Linked DNA regions of Homo sapiens: region 1 is linked to region 2. The links are contacts of gene promoters, found by promoter capture Hi-C in human tissues and cell types (Jung and others, 2019). All regions are on one chromosome and are shown on one strand. Each heading gives the region's core, a stretch centred on a gene start or on the middle of the fragment in contact. The rest is flanking DNA. Distances are from core to core; before and after follow the strand shown.

The links. Contacts are between HindIII fragments. The study calls those that stand out against the background at their distance.
Region 1: a contact is called between a fragment that was not itself captured here and the fragment with the promoter of ARID5B in region 2, in 1 of the 25 tissues and cell types used here (dorsolateral prefrontal cortex).

What each region holds. Positions count from the first base shown.
Region 1 is chr10:62,388,208-62,393,598 of GRCh38, forward strand. It overlaps ZNF365 (zinc finger protein 365), which reads left to right. Exons shown (of 5, transcript NM_014951.3): 3 at 189-369. Among named protein-coding and RNA genes, the nearest start is that of ZNF365, 17 kb to the left of the region's middle. The HindIII fragment of the contact is 3,941 bases long and covers 869-4,809 here.
Region 2 is chr10:61,900,281-61,905,104 of GRCh38, forward strand. ARID5B (AT-rich interaction domain 5B) reads left to right here and starts at 1,419. Exons shown (of 10, transcript NM_032199.3): 1 at 1,419-1,450; 2 at 1,879-2,133. The coding sequence starts at 1,430. RefSeq lists silencers at 1-110, 2,851-3,170 and an enhancer at 1,109-1,611. The HindIII fragment of the contact is 5,601 bases long and covers 1-4,214 here.

The DNA.
Region 1 (5,391 bases), core at 1,589-4,088, 490 kb after region 2:
TATCTTCCTCTATTAAAATACAGTCTGTAAATGTAATCACAAAGAGGTGATTACCTCTCTCGTCATTGCCATGGAGTACTGCCTAGGGTGTTAACTGACAAATAGTAGGCACTCAATAAATATGTGTTGAATGAGTGAATTCCTTGCCTTATATTTCCCTTTTGTGTTCTGACATTTTTGCCTTGCAGAGAAGTTGTCACATTCAACCATTTCCTGGAAGCGGCAGCTGAGAAGGAGGTTCAAGGGAAAGCCCGGCTCCAGGACTTTATTGAGAATCTGTTACAGCGGGTAGAACTGGCGGAGAAGCAGCTTGAGTACTATCAGAGCCAGCAGGCCTCTGGCTTTGTCCGTGATCTCAGCGGGCACGTGGTGAGTCACCCCGGGCCAGCCACCGAGTGTAAGATCCCTGTGGTTGGTGAGAATGGGCTGAGGACAGAGAAAAGGGAGCTGGGTGACTTGCAGGGACTCTCTAGACATCATTTGAGAGCACTGCCTGGGCCATGCCTGTATTGTGGAAATGTTACTGGGGAGTCCAGGACGCCTGGAAGTAAGGTAAATGCTGCATGTGCCGTTTTCAGTCGCTCTTCACCCTCCCACTCCACATCATGCTGAGTTGGTAGAAATATATATATTTTAAATTTGTAAAATAGAAGAGTTTGAAGTATCCAAAGAAATCATTCATTTCAATTTTGATGTTCAAGTAGCTCAGAAGTTATTATCATGTTTTGGAGGTCTTCAAGAGAATCTTACGAAATTCAGTAAAGTAAGATCAAACCACATACACATTTTTTTCCTTAATGGGGGGCAAGCACTGTTCAACAGTCTCTATAAGTTAAAATTCTTCATATAGATTTTCAAAAAGACTGAAAGATTCACAAGTGATAGTTCTAGGGTAGATTCCTGCATACAGTTTTGCATATAGTTTCAGGAGTTTAAGAAACGCCTAAAGCCCAGATGAGATCCCTGGATGTGGATAAAGATCCAGGTTCTCATAGGGGGCTTGATCAGGATTCCCTTGGTCTCGTTGGAGGGCGGAGGGAGGTACAAATAACCATACTCTAGGTCGATGGGGGGCGGGGGTGGGTGGTCATATTTGCCCTGTCTACGGTTTCCTACAACAAAACCAAGGAAATATTTTGGATACCCCAAAGCGGTTTATTTATAACATTTTCATTACTTATTGAACTTTATTTATGCTTACCTCCTTCCTAGCAGATTTAAAAATAGTTTTGTTTTTTTTTTTACTGCTTCCACCCCCGCAGCAAATGGGCTCTATTATAAGGAAAAGAAAATAGGCAACATTTATGCCGATCAAAAGATTAGCAAGGTTGCTATTGGTTGATTTAAAAGTTTACTTAGAGCTTTCTGGAAGCCAGGGTGAAAAGGCAACATGATTAAATAAGAAAACTAATTGTCCAGATGAAGGAATGAAATGAAAGGCAGGTGGATAAAAGAAGGAACAGCAGAGAGGAAGGGAGGAAGGACGGAAAGAAATGAAGAAATCCTACATGGTGCTTGTTGTAATCATGTACACTTGGCCTTAGCGCAGCTCAGTGATATAAGCCCCAGAACTTTCCAGAACAAAAAGAGACTGGAAGGAAGTGTGTTACATCTGTGAGGTTTCAGGTGCTATATTCAAAGAAGTCTCATCCATGTAACATATTTATTATTTTCTGGGTGGATGTCTGTGGTCTTCTACGTAAAATGCTTCTGAGGGGGAAGTCACACCACACTTTGATCCCTCTCCATCTCCTCCTTGGGAAACCATGAGCGTGTCCAGCCTTGACTAGCTGTGGCTGGAGGGACTATCTGAGCCTCTTTCTGCCGTCTTCTTTCATCCTGCCCTCTTAAGAGAGGGTTGGGGCATGAGGTTATGGTGCCCAGATGTGAGGTGAAAAGGCCTGAAAATGCCTGGCTTCCGGTTTATTCTTACTCTGCTTCTGACTGGGCAAGATAGTTAGTCTTCCTGGGCCTATATTTCTTCTGTAAAATGAAGGGGTTGGATTCAGTGCTTTCCAGGTTGTTTTGGCCTCTTAACTTGTGTGAGCATCACCTGACTTTGATGGTTAGGAATTCTAAAATTAAAATGTAACATTGACACTTTCATATTTAGAATTATAAGTCATCCAGAGCTAAGAAATGTATGAAATCTTCCGATACTCAGCCAAGAGGAATCTCAAAGAGAGAAAACAATGGAAGGCAAGGAGGAAGTAAGGAAGCCCATTCATTCTCTCTTTTAAAATTGTTTTTGCTCACCTTTTTTGCTTAGTTTATTTTTTTGGCTTGAAAGTTGAACATTTTTTAAAGAGACATAGCCAGTCATTATTTCTCATCATGCCAAATAATGTAATCAAAAGTTGGGTAGCATTTTGGCTCTTCTAGTTAGATATGTACATGCAAAATTATATCCAGTTGTGTCGCTTTACAATGTGACACATTCTGAGAAATGTGTGGTTGGGCAATTTTGTCATTGTATGAACATCATAGAGTGTATTTACACAAACCTACATGGTATAGCCCACCACATGCCTAGGGTATATGGTATATGGCCTATTACTCCCAGGCTATAAACCTGTACAGCATGTTACTGTACTGACTACTGTAGGTGATTGGAACACAATGATAAGTATTTATGTATCTAAACAGATAGAGAAGAAGAGAAGGTACAGTAAAAATATGATATTTAAAAAAGGTAAGAAATAGTATAGCTGTATAGGGCATTTACCATGAATGGAGCTTGCCGGATTGGAATTTGCTCTGGGTGAGTCAGTGAGTGTCTGGTGAGTGAATGTGACATTACTGTACACTACTGTAGACTTTATGAACACTGTACACTTAGGCTACACTAAATTTGTTTAAAACTTTTCTCTCAATAATAAATTAACCTTAGCTTACTATAACTTTTTTACCTTATAGACTTTTAAATTATTTTTTAACCTTTTGACTCTTTTGTAATAACAGCTTAAAACACAAACATTATATAGAAGTACAATAATATTTTCTTTTTTAAGTTTTTTAAATTTTTAATTTTTGATTTCCATTGGTTTTGGGGGAACAGGTGGTGTTTGGTTACATGAATAAGTTCTTTAGTGGTGATTACTGAGATTTTGGTGCACCCATCACCCAAGCAGTGTACACTGTACCCAGTTTGTAGTCTTTTATCTCTCACACCCCTCTCATCCTTTCCTCCTCCACCCCCTCCCCCGAGTCCTCAAAGTCCATTGTATCATTCTTAAGCCTTTGCATTCTCATAGCTTAGCTCCCACTTATGAGTGAGAACATACAATGTTTGGTTTTCCATTCCTGAGTTACCTCACTTAGAATAACGGTCTCCAGTTCCATCCACGTTGCTGAGAATGTCATTCTTTCTTTCCTTTTTATGGCTGAGTGGTATTCCACGGTATATATAAACCACAATTTCTTTATCCACTCGTTGATTAATGGGCATGGGCATTTGGGCTGGTTCAGTATTTTTTCAATTGCAAATTGTCCTGCTGTAAATGTGTATGCAATTATCTTTTTCATGTAATGACTTCTTTTCCTCTGGGTAGATACCCAGTAGTGGGATTACTGGATCAAATGGTAGTTCTACTTTTAGTTCTTTAAGAAATCTCCACACTGTTTTCCATAGTGGTTGTACTAGTTTACATTCCCACCAGCTGTATGAAAGTGTTCGTTCCCTTTTCGCCACATCTCTGCCAACATCTATTTAAAAACTTTTTCATTATGGCCATTCTTGCAGGAGCAAGGTGGTATCACATTGTGGTTTTGATTTGCATTTCCCTGATCATTAGTAATGTCGAGCATTTTTTCATATGTTTGTTGGCCATTTGTATATCTTCTTTTGAGAACTATCTATTCCTGTCCTTAGTCTACTTCTGATGGGATTGTTTTTTTCTTGCTAATTTGTTTGAGTTCCTTGTAGATTCTGGATATTAGTCCTTTATCAGATGTATAAATTACGAAGATTTTCTCCCACTCTGTGGGTTGTCTGTATACTCTGCTGATTATTTCTTTTGCTGTGCAGACTTAAGTTTAAGTCTCATCTATTTATCTTTGTTTTTGTTGCATTTGCTTTTGGGTTCTTGGTCATGAAGTCTTTGCCTAAGCCATTGTCTAGAAGGGCTTTTCTGATGTTATCTTCTAGAATTTGTATGGTTTCAGGTCTTAGATTTAAGACCTCGATCCATCTTGAGTTGATTTTAGTATAAGGTGAGAGATGAAGATCCAGTTTCATTCTTCTACACGTGGCTTGCCAATTATGCCAGCACCATTTGTTGAATAGGGTGGCCTTTCCCCACTTTATGTTTCTGTTTGCCTTGTCGAAGATCAGTTGGTTGTTAAGTATTTGGCTTTATTTCTGTGTTCTCTATTCTGTTCCATTGGTCTATGTGCCGTTTGTTTGTTTGTTTGTTTGTTTGTTTGTTTGTTTGTTTGTTTTTGAGACGGAGTCTTGCTCTGTTGCCAGGCTAGAGTGCAGTGGCGTGATCTCGGCTCACTGCAACCTCCACCTCTCGGGTTCAAGTGATTCTCCTGCCTCAGCCTCCTGAGTAGCTGGGATTACAGGCACCTGCCACCACACCCAGCTAATTTTTTGTATTTTTAATAGAGACGGGGTTTCACCACATTGACCAGGCGGGTCTGGAACTCCTGACCTCAGGTGATCCGCCCGCCTCGGCCTCCCAAAGTGCTGGGATTACAGGCGTGAGCCACCGCACCCGGCCCTATGTGCTTATTTTTATACCAGAGAAGTACAATAATATTCTCTTCATGTGCTTTATTCAATAAGCTTTTTTTCTATTTTTACATTTTTTAATTTTTCTGTTAAGCTTTTTTTTTTTTGGTTAAAATCTAAGACACAAATACACACAGAGCCAGGATTATCAATATTCCTGTTCGCATCTTTTCCCACTGGAAGGTCTTCAGAGGCTATAGCGCGTACTGAGCTGTCATCTCCTATGGTCACAACACCTTCTTTTGGAATACTTCCTGAAGGACCTGCCTGAGGCTGTTTTACAGATAACATTTTATTTTTATAGAACAGGTACAGTCTAAAATAGAAAGATTAAAAGTATAGTATAGTAAATACACAAACCGGTAGCCTAGTCGTTTATTGTCATTATCAGGTATTATGCTCTGTACATGATTATATGTGCTATACTTCTATGTGACTGGCAGCACAGTAGATTTGTTTACACCAGCATCACCACAAACAATTCATTGTGCTACAACATTATAACAGCTATGGTGTCACTTGGTGATAGGAACTTTTCAGCTTTGTTATAATGTTATGGGAACACCCTCGTATATGCAGTCTGTCGTTGACTGAAACATTGTTTTTTAGTACATGACTGTGTATATGTGTGTGCCACACACAAATGTACATATACA
Region 2 (4,824 bases), core at 169-2,668:
GGGAGGAGAGCGGGGAAGGGGGTGGGGGAACGTGGGGGAAGCGAGTACACCATTTTAAATCAACACTGCGAAAATGCAATCTAGCCTGGCGGAGGACCGGCAGCTGGGTCGGAGCTTGCGAGGGCTTTGCAGTCTCTGCCTGTTCCTTGTTCTGTCGCTCTTAAGTTTCTCTGTGTTTGCATAATAGCCGTGCATGCAAACCTCGCAATGCTCCAGGGCTCCAGAACAATAAATATACACATTTAAAGCCTTTATTGTCTTACGGTTCATGCCCCCGGTTTTCAACAGCTTAATTTCTGGTTGTATTTAACTAGTTTGCAAATGGATTTTTTCAGTTTCAAACTATTATTGAGGAAGCTCCCCTCCCTTTTTTGGCGGGGGAGGGGATGGGGGTGGGGTAGGAGTCGGTATATTATTCCTGTAGCGCTGGGTTATATAAACACATTATCATTTGAGAGCGCCCTTGGCGTCCATCAGCATTGTAAACACGTACTAGTGTATATACTTCAAAATTAAAGAATGCACACGCAGAACCGGGAGCCTGAATTCATATTCTGAGCAGACTCGCTTCTCGCATTTATTGATTTATCATGCATCGTTTATTGTTCCAGTCCCTAAATGCAGTCGCTGTCCGTTCAATATTGTTTGCGAAATCCTAAGATGTGTGTGCACTGCTCACTTGTCTCTTTTTTTTTTGCTGAGTATTTTTTTGCGAAGCGAACAAATGCATTAATATTTATATGTTTATATAATCGATAACCCACTTTTCCCTTCCATGTAAATAGGCATCAAAAGATAATTTAACAGATTAGTTCTCGAAAACATGGCAGTGAGGAAGCGTAATTTAACTATCAAACAAATCTACATGTCTAATAACAGCAAATCTGCTAAGAAGCATTAGAAAGAGGAGCAGCGCCCCGGAATCTCTGCAGGAAATGTTCTTTATATTAGACATATACAAGCAGGTCCTGTCAGATGCACAGTGGAGCTCGCTACCCCTCCTCTCCTCCAAAAATCTCATCAGACGATATCCCAGACAGGAGCGGTTAGAGAGAGAGGAATCACATCTCCACACAGTTTTAGGGTGCTTTTTATTTTTACAAATCTTCTTGTGTGTTTTTTGCCTTGATCCATCCTCTTCCCGCCGAGATCGTATGGCGCCTTTCTCTCGATTATGAATTTGATCAATCCATCTTTGGAAGAAAACCCACATAGTTTTTTCAGGAGCTGAAAATTGAGTCGTTATAGAAATATTAGGACATATTTTCAATCATTTCGGTGCCCGAAGGGAGGCAAGAGCTCAGTTTTATATTGAGACATTACGCCGGCTGAAGGCAGAGAATGCGTTTCCCTGCCAGGACCTGATGCAATCCATTCAAGCCAACAAGTTTGGAGAGAATGTTGAGTTCAATCAATTCAGAACGTCGAGATGGAGCCCAACTCACTCCAGGTATTTCGCTCTCCTCCGCTCCTCCGATCCCGGCACCCCCCGGCACCCCCCAACCCCCCAGCTCACCCACACCTCTGCACCCACCCACACCCCCCACAAACTTTTCACCAAACTTTTACCCTCTGCATCCCCCAAAATCATTTTTATTGTTTAAAAAAATCCCTGCACTGATCATACATACATAATGTAATTTTACCGCCTCAAATGGGGAGGTGGGTAGAAGTGGCGGTGGGGGGCCCTGAGTTTTTTTTTTTTTTTTTTTAGGGAAGCAGAAAATTTGTGGGTGCTATTATTTTTCCACCCAGCGTTATATCTGTTGGGTCGTCTGTATTAAGAGAGTGGATGTCTGTGTGTAAATGTGTCTGGGAATAGATGTTTGTGCTCTGATGGCTACATTATTTATTTGGTGTTTTTTTCCCCCCCTGCAGTGGGTCGGCTCACCGTGTGGCTTGCACGGACCTTACATTTTCTACAAGGCTTTTCAATTCCACCTTGAAGGCAAACCAAGAATTTTGTCCCTTGGCGACTTTTTCTTTGTAAGATGTACGCCAAAGGATCCGATTTGCATAGCGGAGCTCCAGCTGTTGTGGGAAGAGAGGACCAGCCGGCAACTTTTATCCAGCTCTAAACTTTATTTCCTCCCAGAAGACACTCCCCAGGGCAGAAATAGCGACCATGGCGAGGTGGTAAACCTGTCTGTCCCCCTCTTCTTTCTTTATTATTTTTCCCCCTAGTAATGCTTATTACAGGGCAAGCTTGAAAATACTGTATTCACTTCTGCAGGCAAGCAGGATCGACTCCTTTTTTAAAGGGGTAGCGCCACTAGCTGGGGCTCGAGTATTTTGCCATTGTCAGAGTTTGGCTGTCAGCTTTACAAAGAGGATCCAACTGCTGATTTTAGTCAAGATCAAATAACTTGTTCGAGAAGGGTTTTGTTCAAGGATGTGTGTGTGTGTGTGTGTGTGTGTGTGTATGTGTGTGTGTGTGTTCATTTGCTCTCCTGCTATTGCCTCTTGAACATCACATGCTTTTTATATTTTTTGCCTTTTGAAAATTTACCTTCGTGTCTGGCTCGGTCGTGTCTGGGTGGATTTCTTTCGGTGGGTTTCGATATTGTTCTTTTTTCAAAGTAAGTATTTGATATGTTTAAGAGGGCGGAAATTACGAAATGGAGGCAGAATGAGATCAAAAGCTATTGAGTTGGCAAAGACGTGTTGAATAAAGTGATAAATGACAGGTACTGGAATAATACATTCAAATAACTTGCAGATCTGCCCGGGCGGATTTCAAAGCGGTGGTGTAACAGGCACAAACACGTTAAGCATTAACAACTATCTCTCGCCCACTCCCCCTCCCCCCGGACAAGCCATTTGATGTTCTAGTTTGCAATTACTCCACGCAAAGTGGACGTCCTCCTGCGCGATCTTTGGGGGTGTGTGGGACGGGGGCGGGGGAGGGGAGGGCAGAGGGGTGTGTGCTCGCCCACTGGCCCTGCGGGTCCAGCGTTCTCCGTGCCCAGACGGCGCTCCCGGGGAGGGCGGGGAGGGGACAGAGCCTCCCCGGCACGTTTCTGGGCGGCCGCGGGGGCGCTCGCCGCGCTCCCGGGAGGACGCCGGAGGTGAGCCCGCTGTCACTGGGCGCCGGGGCGGCCGCCTCCCTTCGGCTCTGTCATTTCATGTGTGACCGCAGTTCTGCGGGCTCCCCTCCTCAGCTGACCGACCTCAGCGCCGTGGTACCTACCGAGGGGAACTATTTTGGGGAGTCTGTGCCCACGGCGCAGCGGGGAGGGAGGGCGCACTGCCGCCTGGCGAGGCTTTGTGTTGCCAAAGCGAGAGCAGGGTAATCAAACAGACTTTTGAGGGCAGCTAGTGCTGTGCCAGGCTCTCGAGCTTTCGAGGTAGGTGTAAGGATCTAAGGATCTTTTTGTTAAATGAATGGTTTCCCGTTTAACTCATCCCGGGGCTCGGAGCTGCCAGTCCTTCCAGAATTCCTCGGTTTGATCGAGTTGATAGTACTTTTGGCATTGCTAGTTCACTCCCTCTCCCCAGGATCGAATTACTCGTCAGTGGTCTATGCCGGTTAATTACTGGAGTTCGTCGAAACGTTCGCCCTCGAATCTGCCTTTTCGGAAATAAGCCCCTCCCACCTCCCCGCTCACCTCCCCCCTCCACCCTCCCCGGCCAGCTTTGGTTTTTAAATGTTCATATTTCCCGACGTCCGCCTGCAATTTTAAAAAGGTGTTGTTTGGAAATACTGTGAAAAATCCTGCAACCTACCAACAGGTTGAGCTCTTTCCCCCTCCCAAGGTCTGGCTCGGCCCCCTCCCCCGACCCAACTTTCCTGCGCAGCTGTCTTCCTCCCCCTCCCTCTCCCCCTCCTGATTTCTTATTATTTGCTTTTCAAATTTATTACTTCAACATGGCCTGTGATCTGGAAAAGGGAAGGATTAAATATCCAGAAAAGAACTGGTGCTTAACAGACTTCTGACTAAGTCCAGGAGGAAATTATTCAGTGTTTTATGGGATATTTTGTGGTCACTCTTTTTTGGGGGGCGGGGAATTGAAATTGGGATGTTTTTTAAAGACCCTGAGTTGACCCCACTTGGTACAGTTTTAATTTTTGTTGGTGTAATTAAATGGTGAATTCTGATTTAAGAATAAAGGCTATATTTGCCAAACGTTGCATCTGCTAGAAGTGTTGACAGTGAATAGATATATTTTTAAATACACGATTTCTTTTTAATTGTTCATTATGGGGAATTGAAAGGGAACCATTGTAATGATCTGTGCATTTCGTCACTGCTATATGAGCCATACCTGAGAAAATTAATCTTGCCATTTAAAAGTAAACTCTAGGGGGTTTGCGGAGGGAGATGGCTCTATTTATAATCCTCAGCTGCATATACATCGTCTAATATTATGCATGATTTGTTTTTTAATGCTAACACGGCTGGTAATTAGCTGTATGATTATACTTGTATATTTCATTAGGACTTTGGCTGATGTCATTGTGAATTATTCAGCCATATTAAAACAATTTTCAATTGAGATAATGACACGCCTCAAAATTATGCAAATGCAGACTGCATTGTGCAAAATAATTATGACAAATGTAAAGCAGGTAGAAAGTTTCCCAATGCAGATCGGTTTTCCACCCTGGTGATGTCATTTCCCCCCTGGCCTAAGTTAGTCATTCATTAGCAGAATAGCAGCAGCAGTCTTCTCTGGAGGAGAGCCTTACAGAAACCAGCATTTACTGCTGGCACCTAGAGGGGGCAACAGGGCCCTCTCATTAAGAAATTTGCTTTGTTTTCACTTATTCCATTAACTTGTTTATATACATTTAAATGATTTTTATTATTGATTTTAAATAGT